Linked DNA regions of Homo sapiens: regions 2 and 3 are each linked to region 1. The links are contacts of gene promoters, found by promoter capture Hi-C in human tissues and cell types (Jung and others, 2019). All regions are on one chromosome and are shown on one strand. Each heading gives the region's core, a stretch centred on a gene start or on the middle of the fragment in contact. The rest is flanking DNA. Distances are from core to core; before and after follow the strand shown.

What was found. The method cuts DNA at HindIII sites, captures the fragments that hold promoters and counts their contacts. A contact is called where the count stands out against the background at its distance.
Region 2: a fragment that was not itself captured here is called in contact with the fragment with the promoter of TXNDC2 in region 1 in 2 of the 25 tissues and cell types used here (adrenal gland and mesenchymal stem cells).
Region 3: a contact is called between a fragment that was not itself captured here and the fragment with the promoter of TXNDC2 in region 1, in 3 of the 25 tissues and cell types used here (heart left ventricle, lymphoblastoid cells and mesenchymal stem cells).

What each region holds. Positions count from the first base shown.
Region 1 is chr18:9,884,575-9,888,856 of GRCh38, reverse strand. It overlaps TXNDC2 (thioredoxin domain containing 2), which reads right to left and starts at 2,884. Exons shown (of 2, transcript NM_032243.6): 1 at 2,777-2,884; 2 at 1-2,268. The coding sequence starts at 2,176. The coding sequence ends at 716. The HindIII fragment of the contact is 24,551 bases long and covers 1-4,282 here.
Region 2 is chr18:9,754,825-9,759,480 of GRCh38, reverse strand. The region is part of intron 1 of RAB31 (RAB31, member RAS oncogene family); the gene reads right to left. Among named protein-coding and RNA genes, the nearest start is that of RAB31, 49 kb to the right of the region's middle. The HindIII fragment of the contact is 7,328 bases long and covers 1-4,656 here.
Region 3 is chr18:9,662,291-9,666,699 of GRCh38, reverse strand. No RefSeq gene overlaps it. Among named protein-coding and RNA genes, the nearest start is that of LINC02856, 18 kb to the right of the region's middle. The HindIII fragment of the contact is 4,849 bases long and covers 1-4,153 here.

The DNA of each region.
Region 1 (4,282 bases), core at 1,635-4,134:
CAGGAACTCTGCCATCAGGGCACTGATGTCATAAAGGCAGCAAAGATCCAGAGGACTTCAACCTCCGAGAAACCTGAAGTTCCGACCTCTTGTCTGAGATTTTGTGAGCGTAGATTATAGTAGGTAGAGCCCTGGACTTGAAATCTGGAAGCGGCCTTGATCTCATTTCCGTCACCAACAAATCAGATCTTGGAAAACCCACTGAATTTCCCAAGGCCTCCGTAGCACTTCCGGCACAAGAAGGAGGTTAGCTAAGATGTGAATCTTTCAAATTCCTTATTTCCAAACATATCTTATCAGAATCCCCAAAGATGTGTGACATGAGAAAAGAAGTTTCCATTCACCTTTCAGTCATCTACCTCTATAGAAAAATTATCTAAATTTTCAGTCTTGCTGCAAACACTAAATGCGTGAAATTTTCAAAGACAAGTGAAAAATAAATACATATCAAGATTGAAAAATAGGAAACCATGGGACTTAGCAGTCTTCACCATGGGAATTTCTAATTTTATACTCTCCCACTAACAGAAACACAGTCGCAATGTACTTTAATGCTTGGACTGTTTTTTGAAAAGGGTAGAGTTAATATTATCATGTACAAGCAGTGCCATTTGGACATACACTTTTGTTATACCTGATCACTTTGTGTAAATAATAAAAGAGAACTCAAAAGCTATAAACACCTGACTGTCTGCAATGTTTTCAGAATACATGTTTACTTTAATTCTGCAATGACTGCTTCAAGTTTTTCCTTAAGGGCGCCGCAAAGTTCATCCACCTTTTCTTCTTTTTTATAAAACTGAAAGGTTGGGACACACATGATGGCGCACTCTCTCACCACCTCCTCACAGTTGTCAGCGTCCACCTCCAGGAACACCACATCCTCATGCTTCACAGACAGGGCATGGAAGAATGGTCTGATGGTCCTGCAGGGCCCACACCACGTGGCCGAGAAGTCCACAGCCACCAGCCTCTCCCCGGCCTCCTTCAGTGATGCCTCAAAGTCCTCCTTGCTCAGGATCACTTTCACCTTGTCCCCCTCCGGGAACTCCATTGTTTCTTCTTCAGGCTTTAGGATGTCACCCTCCTTGGATGGGGTGGCTTCTTCTAGGGACTTGGGGCTGTCATCCTCCTTGGGCTGGATGGTTTCTTCTGGGGACTTGGGGATGTCAATCTCCTTGGGTGGGATGGCTTCCTCTAGGGACTTGGGAATGTCACCCTCCTTGGGCTGGATGGCTTGTTTTGGAGACTTGGGAATGTCACCCTCCTTGGGCTGGATGGCTTCTTCTGGGGACTTGGGGATGTCACCCTTCTTGGGCTGGATGGTTTCTTCTGGGGACTTGGGGATGTCACCCTCCTTAGGCTGGATGGCTTCCTCTAGGGACTTGGGGATGTCACCCTCCTTGGGCTGGATGGCTTCTTCTGGGGACTTGGGGATGTCACCCTCCTTGGGCTGGATGGCTTCCTCTAGGGACTTGGGGAGGTCACCCTCCTTGGGCTGGATGGCTTCTTCTGGGGACTTGGAGATGTCACCCTCCTTGGGCTGGCTGGGCTTCACTGAGGCCTTGGGAATATTGCCCAGCTTGGGCTGGATGGGCTTTGCTGAGGACTTGGGGATGTCACCCTCCTTGGGCTGGATGGTTTCTTCTGGGGACTTGGGGATATCACTCTCCTTGGGCTGGCTGGGCTTCACTGAGGTCTTGGCAATATTGCCCAGCTTGGGCTGGATGGGTTTTGCTGAGGACTTGGGGATGTCACCCTCTTTGGGCTGGATGGCTTCTTCTGAGGACTTGGGGAGGTCCTCCTTCTTGGATTGGATGGTTTCTTCTGGGGCCTTGGGGATGTCACCCTCCTTGGGCTGGCTGGGCTTCACTGAGGCCTTGGGAATATTGCCCAGCTTGGGCTGGATGGGTTTTGCTGAGGACTTGGGGATGTTACTCTCTTTGGGCTGGATGGCTTTTTCTGAGGACTTGGGGAGGTCCTCCTTCTTGGATTGGATGGTTTCTTCTGGGGCCTTGGGGATGTCACCCTCCTTGGGCTGGATGGTTTCTTCTGAGGACTTGGGGCTGTCATCCTGCTTGGGATGGCTGGTGTTTGCTGAGGACTTGGGTAGGTCATCGCCCTCCTGTGAGGCATCAGACTCCTCTGTGCGCATGTGGAACGTGTGGCTGACCATGGGGAGAAAGGCCTTCTCTTTGGCCTGGGCTATTTCCAAGAACTCTAGGGCCAGGAGAGGCACGTTGCTGGACAGGACTAGTAATGAGCTTTCTGTACCAAAAAACATAAAATAAAATAAAATAAAATAAATCAAATAGAAATGCAAAAGAAGAACCAAAGAAATTCTCTTCATATTCCAAGGAAGACTGATGTCACTCTTCGAGATCACGAATGAAGTCTGATGAATGATGTATTAATCTGAAAAACTCATTCAGCAGAAGGACAAACAGCGTGTGGTTACACGTATCTTCTGTATACATGTTCTTAAGCTACAACTTTCCCTTCTTGGTTCAACACCCTGCCCGCTCCCTAACTGCATAGGTCTTTAAGGCAACCCTCTTTCCTCCCCTACTTACCATTAGCATCACCTTCACTTGTTTCTTCCTGAGTGCCCAGCCTCATTTCTGGTTTTCCAGAGGCTCCAGCTTTAACACTTTCCATTCCTAGTTCCTTGTCTACATCCATTCCTGATCCTTCATAGATGCCTCATAGTAAAGGCCGTACCCTCCAACTTTTTCCAAGCTATCCATCCTAACATCAAAATATGAGTAAAACTTACATTTGGGTGGCACGTTACAGTTGGTTTTCCCTCTCTGTATTCACAACAGTGATATTTGAGAGCTTCAAGGTGGCTCCCCTGTGCTGAGGCTGGGACTACGCATTCACTGGCATCATTTCCTAGAACACAACAAACCACTGAGGTCAGAACCATTATGATGAGTAGTTTACACATGAGAAGCTATGTAGCTCACTTAAGGTCACAAAGCTAGGGTGGGGGCAGGCTCCAAAGCTCATGCTCTGCACTGTGAGGCTGTGCTGGACTGCTCGCCACAAGTCCCGTCCAGCCTGGGTTCTGTGAATCAACCATCTTATCATCTTTCTCCAGGATCCCCCAGCTCCAACATTCTCTTTACGACTCACCCATTGTGACCAGCTCCTAAGTATCTCCTCGAAACCATGTTAGCCTCCTCTGCAAAGTGTCCCACAATGTCAAATGTTCAGCTCCTGCTAGACAGCCTCTTTCCCCACCTCCCCCACCTCCCAGGCGCACCAGCCCAGCCTGTGCCCTCCCCCATGCAGACACATCCAAGTACACGGCTCTTCCAGCCTTTACATACAGGAGAACAACCTCTTTGTGAATAATCCTGGTTCCATAAGCCACATCTACCCCATCCTGTGGAATGGGAAGCCAAATACCTGTCCCCCAGGGAGACTTATTTTATTAGTTCAGGACCACTGGCTCATTTTCCACCCTCACTCTGCACAACACATCCAGTCCAAGGCAGGAAGAATCAGTGTGGAATTTTGCCTTCTCTACATGTACTTTGAACAAATCCTCATATGTTTCAGTTTCACCCCAACAATATAAGTGTTGAAAGTGGTCAGGCATGGTGGCTCACACCGTGATCTCAGTACTTTGGGAGGCCAAGGTGGGAGGATTTCTTGAGCCCAGGAGTTTGAGATCAGCCTAGGCAACATAGCAAGACCCCATCTCTACAAAAAATACAAAACCTAGCCAGGCACAGTGGCACACGCCTGTCCCAGCTACTTGGGAAGCTGAGGTGGGAGGCTTGCTTGAGCCAGTGAGTTCAAGACTGCAGTGAGCCGTGATCACTACATCGTACTCTAGCCTGGGCAACAGAGCAAGGCCCCGTCTCTAAAAACTAAAAATAAAAGTGTTGAAATCTAAATGATAAGACCTCCACATTGTCAATAGAAACCTCGAAACATCTAATGGCAATGGTTCAATTATCTGGATTTTTATACCAAAACACATTTTACTAAGGGGTAGAGAGACTATTGGCCTTAGCAAATCCATAGTTCCTTTTTTTTTTTTCTTTGAGACAGTCTTGCCCTGTCACCGAGGCTGGAGTGCAGTGGCACAATCTCGACTCACTGCAACCTCTATCTCCCAGGTTCAAGCAATTCTCTTGCCTCACCCTCTCGAGTAGCTGGGATTACAGGCATTCACCACCACACCCGGCTAATTTTTGTATTTTTTTTAGTCGAGACAGGGTTTCACCATGTTAGCAAGGCTGGTCTCTAACTCCTGACCTCAAACGAT
Region 2 (4,656 bases), core at 1,822-4,321, 130 kb after region 1:
CTACTAGATAGGACAGGTGCTGTGGCTCACGCTTATAATCCCAACACTTCGGGAGGCTGAGGTGGGAGGTTTACTTGAAGCCAGGAGTTTGAGAACAGCCTGGACAACATAGCGAGACACTGTCTTTATGAAAAATCAAAAAATTAGCCAGGCATGGTGGCATGTGCCTGGTGTCCAAGGTACATGGGAGGCTGAGACAGAAGGATTGCTTGAGCCCAGGAGGTTGAGGCTGCACTACACTCAAGCCTTAGTGACAGAGCAAGACCTTGTCTCAAAACAAAAACAAAAACAAAAAGACCCGCTGTATAGATAAATGTCCTCTAAGTGCCCTCCGCTCTACATAGCCGAGCCGCCATGTTTCAGGCCACCTTCCTCATGTCTGAACGTCTATTCCCAAGGCAGCCCTGGGTCCAAACCCTGGGAAGGACAAAGCTACTACTGCTTCTCCATCTCAAAGCCGCACACTGCTTGATCTCAAAGATTATCAATTCTGTCTAATCTTCTACTGCCCTACTTCCTGTCCCACCCAACAGAGCACGCTGGTTGAATTCTGCAGACGTCGTCAGTTACACTGTCTTGCGGTCCCAGCCACTGTGCTGCACTTTCAGAGCAAAGGCCTCGGCAGCGGTGGTCATTTTTGTAGTCACCCTTGCTTTTGTCCTCATGGGGAGATAGACAGGGGGATGGATGAAAGGTCATGCCACACTCGCACACAGCTGAGACTCAGAATCAGATGCACCAGACCATGTCTCACTTGTGTGACATTGGGAAGGGAAGCACATGGCTATTGCTGTAAGTCCCATGTGTCTACCCTCACAGGCTCCTGGTTCAGTGAGGAACACAGACAAGTAAACTGGGAAGTAGCATCGACTGTGACAAGTGCTGTGATGGGGATGCACAGGGACACCTGCCCGCATCTGACAATCAGGAAAGGCTTCATGGAGGCAGGGGCACTAAATCTGAAACCAAAAGGATGCACTAGCCCAGCAAAGAGACAGGCAGGACTGGTGAATGGAGAAGGGAAGAGGGGGGAGGAGAACACAAGCAGAGGCCACAGAGAAGGAAGGCTGTCCGAGTGAGTCAGCGTGGTCAGACATTTGGGGCTTTTCCCCCCAGGAGGCAAAGAAGCCAGCACCTCCCCATGAACATGTGGATGGAGGGGCCTGGGTTATGCTTTCCACTCCCCCATCCTGCTGATCCCACTCTGACTGGAATGAGCTGGTTCCGTGGTGAGCAGGTCATTTTGCAAACCGACTGCCAAAAGCCAAGGGAACTGAGAGGTCGAAGAAAGAGGCAACAAATCCAGTTTCTCAGAGAGCAACATTTAATGGGACGTATGAACAGGAGCCGCGTCTCGGGTGGCCCACAGGCGAAATGGGGGATCCCTGTGCTACCATCCCCAGGCCCAGGGCTTACGCACCACAGGGGGACAGTGTCCGTGCTTCAGAAGGGATGTGCGGAACAACTGCTTTACAGCAAGATTTACGGTAAGTACGATAACATCAAGGTTGTTTTGACCTAAGGACAAGATTTATGGTAAGTACATGCTCTTACACAAGGAAGAAGATGAAATAGAAATCTTAGAGGCATTGCCAGAACTGGAGTTAATCAGAAGCCGACATGATGGATTAGCATCCAGGATGGAGTCATCTTAGCCCTCCACAGGTGGCCTCAAAGAGGGCCTCTCGCCCTCTGCCCTAACCCAGTGGCTCTATCTCCCTACTTCTGACATTCCTGCACATTCCCCAAAGGGGATCTGAAGCACACACATGAACACACACATACATGCACATGCATACATGTGCACACACATGTCCACACAGCCCACAGAGACACTGTTACACAGACCCAGCATGCGGTGTCCTGGATCATCCTAGGTTCAACGTGGCTAAAGCTAGGAACACCACTCACTTCCCAGAAGCCCCTTCTCCATAGAGTTCTGGACTAGAGTTGACCAAAAAAGGAATCTGCAGGAAGTAAAGACTGGGCATTACTCTCTGAAGGTCTTTAGCACACAGAGATGACAAGGTTCCCAGCAGAGCCCCACTTGTCCCCACTCCTCTCTTCTGTGTCTGACTCTTCTCCCAACAGCGGTCCTCCCAATGTAGGGTGTAGAGGCAGGAGCTACGCAGAGCAGTGGCTGCCCGCAGGCACCTGCTCCATGTCCCCACTGCAGGCCGGCTTCCCTGCTGGGCACCTCTGGCTTCTCAGAGCTTCCTTGAGAGCCACAACCATCCACCATGCCGGGTGCTGCTGTTTTGAGATGTTTCTCTGATCTTCGGGCTCTGACTCCCAGGCATCCCCTTCCCCAGCCACCCACACTGGTATTAAGTGGGATTACTGTAATAAATTCCTTTTCCCATAACACTCAGAGTAGCTCTGCTTCCTGACTGAACGCCAACTCATACTGACATGCCCACCAAGGAGAAATAACCCAGAAACAAGAGAGGAATGAATGTACTGCAGGCTAAGACGTAAACTCTGGTAGGAGCATGTCAGCTAAACCCATAGTGCAGAAAGGCACCAATCAATCAGAACAGACTCCTAAACTTATACAACTGGAGCCAAGGGCACCATCAGTTACTTCGTTAGGGAGTTTGAACTTTGTTCTGAGGGCAATGGGAGCCAATGAGACCACACAGTGGTGGAATTTTAAGAGGACTGGAGGAAAGCAAAACTGGAAACAAAGGCCATTTAGGAGCTGTTCATTCATTTGCTGCATTTTTATTGAGCACCTACTACGTGCCAAGCATTATCATAGATGACAGTGGCCTGATTTAAAGTACCAGAGTCTATCGTATCAACACTAAGACTCCACAATGACAGCTTGGCTTACATTCCATGCTCACTTCTATAGAGCAGACAAAAGAAACAGTTCATAAATCCCAACCATAATAAATTTGAAAAGTCAGCATCCTCAGACCACTCACAAATATGAATTAATGCTCAAGGCTTTGCCGACTGCCAAGCCAAGGTCCTGTGCAATACAGTTAACTGCTGTAATCTCTTAATCAGGGCACTAGATTACAACAGATGTGATTTAATCAAATGAGATATATGCACACTTGCAAACTGTACAGAGAAGAGCAAGCAGTCAATACACTTCCACATTATTTATAAGCTGGGGATATTACAGTCTGCCCACAACTTACCTGCTTTCCTGACTCTACACTGTTCTAGTTAAATAATAATGGTTTTTGACTCATGATGTATTAGGAATTGTCTTATACTCATGAAGGTTAACTATATCAGGGTCTATACTTGATCGCACTGCATGAGGAAAGGAATGTGGAAGCAAGGGAGGGAGTACAGAGTTTGAGAAAACCCTAACTCCCTATCTACTGCATCCCCACAACTACCATGCTCACATGACCTTCTCATGGTTTAAAGCTTCTCCAATCATCCAGCACTTCTGCAAGTATTTAACAGACATTACAAAATATAAATAAAAGTCATCAATGAATTTCCAACTCAAGGGAAATTACTAAGCCCTCATCTTCAATCTATGCTCTTTGGAGAAAAATGCTAAAATATTACTCTTAGTTTAAGAAATTTTACCAGGAAACACAAGGCAGCCTAAACCACAGCTGCCAGAAGAATCCACGCCACATTGCAGCCTCTGAGCAGAGGGCAGCAAAAGCCCCCACTTCCTCTTCCATTGTCCAGGCCTCCTGAGGTCAGAGATGAGGCACGCTAGCATCTTTCATTCATTCAAAGGAGAGAGGGGGTGTGACGGCTGGGACTGACAATGAAAACAGAGACAGCCTCACATGTGGACAAACCTCCTGGTAACAACCTAAATCCATGTACTGCTGCCATGAGGCCATGGAAATTCAGTCTCTGGTTCCTGGACAGTGTCCTCAACTGTTCCCCAGCCCAAGAAGAGCTGAAGCTCAAAGAGGAGGGCAAGTGACTGCAGATCAGCTCCTTACTGCTATGCTGGATATCACAGCAATGAGCTAAAATTGACAGCGTGACATTAGTCCTCAAGTACAGCCTTAGCTTACCAAAAATGCCTCCAACTCCTCCAGCACAGAAAACTAATCTGAAACCTTGCTAGAGAGTACGAAGCTCCTGCTCACAGAGGGTAAGGCCAAGGGCACTGATGGGAACCTGGACTACAAAGCAGGCACATGTGGCCAGTTGGGTTGAAAATGCAGTAAAAAATGGTGACTAAGGGAAAAGTCAAGAGAAGGCAGTCACAGACATCAAGACAAAACGGAGCTAATGAGATTCCAAGTTCCACATCATGAATATCTATGAATTATTAAGACCACTAATCATGTTATTAGTAATGATGGTGATGATAGTTAACATTCTGTTAAGCTTTCCTGTATGCTAGACTCTTTTCATTTGCATCACCTCATTTAATCTTCAATCTAATTCTATGACAGACTTACTAGTGTGACGCCTTACAGTTGGGAAAACAGGCTGGGAAAACAGTTGGGAAAACCTGGTCTGTGCCTCAGAAACCCAAGCTGTAGACCTCCATACTGTACCTACTCCTGCCTCTTCACAAACACCATCTGGGCTTGCAATCCTGTGACAAGTGCCAGAGAGACAAGCAGGTATGGTAATGCCTTTATTCTTCCACTCACTAAACACATATTCCATGTCTAGGCCACACCAGGCACTGTGTTAGACATTGGAGATTCA
Region 3 (4,409 bases), core at 480-2,979, 220 kb after region 1:
ACCTACCGGCTTTAGAAGACAGGCTTCATCATTGCCTCTATCTACTATTTCATTAGCAGAGGTAACATGGTAATTTTCAAATTCTATCTGCCTCACATCCCCTGCAATGATTAACTTTGATTCTTCTATAAAGAAGAACTTCTTTGGCCAGGTGTGGTGTCTCACGCCTGTAATCCCAGTACTTTGGGAGGCTGAGGCTGGAGGATTGCTTTATCCCAGGGTTTAAGACTAACCTGAGCAACATATTGAGACCCCGTCTCTGTTATTAAAAACCATAAATAATTTTATTTTAAAAAGAAGCACTTCTCCCATCAACTGTTCACTCTGAAATACAGTTCATTAGGGAGGCAGGATAAATGCTTGGTGCTGTCCCTTTACACATCATTTCTGTCCCTTTATGTATCCAGAGCAGTTAAGAATATTTTAGTTGCAGATAACAGAACCCAATTTGGGACAGCTTAAGAAAGTATATAATTTATTGGGAAGCTCTGGATAAGTACAGAATCATAGGAAGAGAGAAGCAGAAAGTGGAGACATGAGGGCAGCTCTGAGCACCCCAGCAGCAGGCTTTGTGGGCTTCTCCATAGAGAGTCGCCCTCTGTGAGACTCAGCAACATTGACTTCCAGAAGCAGGGTGCACACTTAACCACTGCAATTAGAGAGGACAGTCCCCACAAGAGACTGTCCTTACTCTGACACCAGTTGAAAGTTTGGGGGGGTGTTCCCAAAACCACCCTCAGTTTTGATAATTCACTAGCTGGAAGGACTCACAGTGCTCACCAAAAGCTGTTATACTCATGGTATGATTTCTTACAGAGAAAGGAAATGGATTAAGATCTGCCAAGGGCAGAGACTCGTGGGGCAGAGTCCAGAAAGGGGTCCGCCTGTGGAGCTTCTGACCATCCTCTCTGTGTTGTTATGAGCACAGTGAGCTCCTTCCAGCCATGATGGAATAATGCACATGGAGTGTGGCTAACCAGGAAAGCTCGCCAGAGCCTGGGTGCCTACTGTTTCCATTGGTGCTCCATAGCATAGCATACTGACCACATGGCTGGCCTGTAGTCTCTACCCCCTCCTGGAGATCAGTCTGGTAACTTTAGTCTCCAGTCCCTTCTGGAGACAGAATCCATCCTATGTAGCCCACATCCCCCATCATAAATCACATTGGTAGACTGTCTGGTGGTGAAAACCTCCGGCCAGACAAAGGCAGGACATTCCAGTGGCCTAGAAACCACCTCCCAGTAGCTGAGGGCAAAGGCCAGTCTTCTCTTTGAGTAAGGTTCATTCTTCACTGCACACTGGGTCTCTTCATTCCAAGTTTAAAATTACAAAAGAAACGGAGACTACTTGGTCCAGTTTATACAAAATCATTCAGACATGGACCCTGGAGAAAGACCTTGAGAAAGAGCCTTCTATATTTTACATACACACCCCTTTCTCCAGCTGTTTAGAAACGCCCCTAACACAACTGACCTAAACTCCTATGCACCCCTCACTCTCTCAAAAAACATAACCCCAAGTTAGACTCAGCAGCTGCCTGTGAAAGTCACGTCGCGAAGCCATAGTCCCCAAAGCCAGATCACAGGCCTGGCCCATGCTCCTCCAGCTCTGCTGAGATCCTGTTTCAGTGTTCTGCACCTTAGAGACATTAGTACATCAGCCAACAAGGTCACATCCAATATCAAGGAGAAGAAAGGAAAAAAGACAAACTATAATCACGTCTTTAAGAAAAGGGAGCAATTAGCTCCCACTGGCAATAAGATAGTGATGGAAGCATTCCATTTATTTTTCCACAGCATTATTCACAGTAGCAAAAGGTGGAGACGACTCAGGTGTCCTTTGATGGATGCATGGATAAACTCAATGTGGTGGATTCGTATACAGAGGAATATTATTCAGCCTTCAAAAGAAGGGAATTCAGACACATGCTACAATGTGGATGGACATTGAAGACATTACGCTAAGTGAAAGAAGCCAGACATCAAAAGGACAAATATTTTGTGATTCCACTTATACGAGGTATATGAGTAATCAAATTCACGGAGACAGAGAGTAGGAAGGTGGTTGTCAGGGGCTAGGGGCAGTGGGGATGGCAGTTATTGTTTAATGGGTACAGAGTTTCAATTTAGAAACATGGAAAGTTCTGGAGGTGGATGGTGATGATGGTTGCACAACAGTGTCAATGTACATAATGCCATTCAACTGTGCACTTAGAAATGGCTAAAAAGGTAAATTTTATATTATGTAGTTTATGTATTATGTATTTTAGAACAATTTTTTAAAAGGCTTTTAAAAACGTCCTCTATTGCAAATTGTCTGTTCTTGTTCCATGTGAATGAATTCTGAATAAAATATGAACTATTTTTCTTTCATATTTACTTAGAATATATCTCTGAATTTGTAATTTATTTCCTTTGTTGTTTGGAAAATGCGGTTTTTTTGGACTTAAACATTTATCATAATTATGTAATTGTTTAAAATGTTCCTGTGGGATTTCTCCCACAACGTTTAAGCTTCTGAAGTGGCCTACCCCTCTCCGTGTTTTAATTTTTTTAAGCCTTTTACATGGTTTTAAATTTTTAAATGTTTACTTTTTGTAGCAACAGGATCTCACTACATTACCCAGGCTGGTCTCAAACTCCTGGACCTCAGACTCCCAAAGTGCTGGGATTACAGGCATGAGCCACTGCACCCGGCCTCGATTTACTTTTTTAACATTGAATTCCTTAATGCATCTATTGTCATAGCATGATTAATTGAATAATTTTTCTATCTCATTAAGTTGAGATTGATGTGATTTTAATCACATATTAAAATGTAAATATATTCGGTCCAGTTTTTTGGCTTTTTTTGTGTCATTGATCAGTTTCATTTTTCACTGCTACAATGCTATTTAATTATTCTAGTTTTATGTGGCTGTCTTTTGCAAAAATGGCTGCAATAATATTTCCCATCCCACGTGAACCTTCTAGAACCTTCACATTCCTCCAGAAAGATGGAGAGGCTGTGTTCCCTCCCCTTCAAACTGGACAGGCCCTTTTGAATGCCTCAGGAGTACTTTGCAGTGGAGGTGACTCATGCGACTTTTGAGACTAGCCTAGAGAAGGTCACAAAGCTTGTTCTAGGCTCCCTTGAGACACGGGCGTTTGAGCACGAGCCACATGTAAGAAGCGCAGCAGCCCTGAAACTGCCATGTTGGAACCACACAGAGGCAGGGGCAGCCCGGGACCCAGCAGGTCCACCCTCAGCCCTTTGAGTCTTCCCAGCGGACACAGCTGCCCAGCCTGGGAGGGAGCAAGTCTTTAGCCATACTAGCCCAGCTCCCACCTTACTGCAGCCACATGCAGAACCTCAAGGAAGAGCCACCCAGCCCAGCCCGGCCACCCTCCAGATTCATAAGACATGGGACGTAAAATCACTATTGTTTCTTGCGATACTGCGTTTGGAGTGATATATTATGCAGCAATAATCACCAGAACCCTTTATAACATGTTTTAGAGTAGTCCTGCTTCTTTGTTTTTTTTCAGAATTGACATTACTATTTGCATCTATTTATTCTTCTTGTGAATTTCAGATTTATGTGGTCACATTCCTGCTTCCTTCCGATTTCCTTCTTGGAATCTATTAACAGATGTGACCGTGTCTATATAGAATTGTATTATCTTTTAAATAGCATATTTAAAACTCTTTTCTATATAGCTATATAACTTCATAATTATATTTACTTAAATTTTGTCTCTATTATTGGACATTTAAGTTGTAGCATTTTTTTCACAATTATAAATAGTACCATGCCATTTTACAATAATGCATATTTGTGTACCCCCAAAATTCATAAGTTGAAACTTAACTCCTAGTAGGATGGTACCAGGAAGTGGAGCCTTTGGGAAGTATTTAGATCATGAGGGTGGAGCCCCCATGATAGGATTAGAAGAAGCCAGAGAGCTGGCCCTCTTCTTTATTTATTTATTTATTTATTTATTGTGATGGAGTCTTGCTGTGTCTCCCAGGCTGGAGTGTAGTGGCACGATCTCAGCTCACTGCAACCTCCACCTCCCGGATTCAAGCAATTCTCATGCCTCAGCTTCCTGAGTAGCTGGGATTACAGGCACCTGCCACCATGCCCAGCTAATTTTTGTATTTTTAGTAGAGACGGGTTTCACTATGTTGGCCAGGCTGATCTCAAACACCCTACCTCAGGTGACCCACCTGCCTCGGTCTCCCAAAGTGCTTGGATGACCCAAAGTGGTGGCATGAGCCACCGCGCCGGGAGCTGGCCCTCTTCTTTCCTCCACGTGAGGATACAATGAGAAGTCAGCTGTCTGCCTCCTGAAAGAGGGCTCTCACCAAAACCTGACCATGCTGGCACCCTGATCACAGACTTCCAGCGTCCAGCACTGTGAGAAATA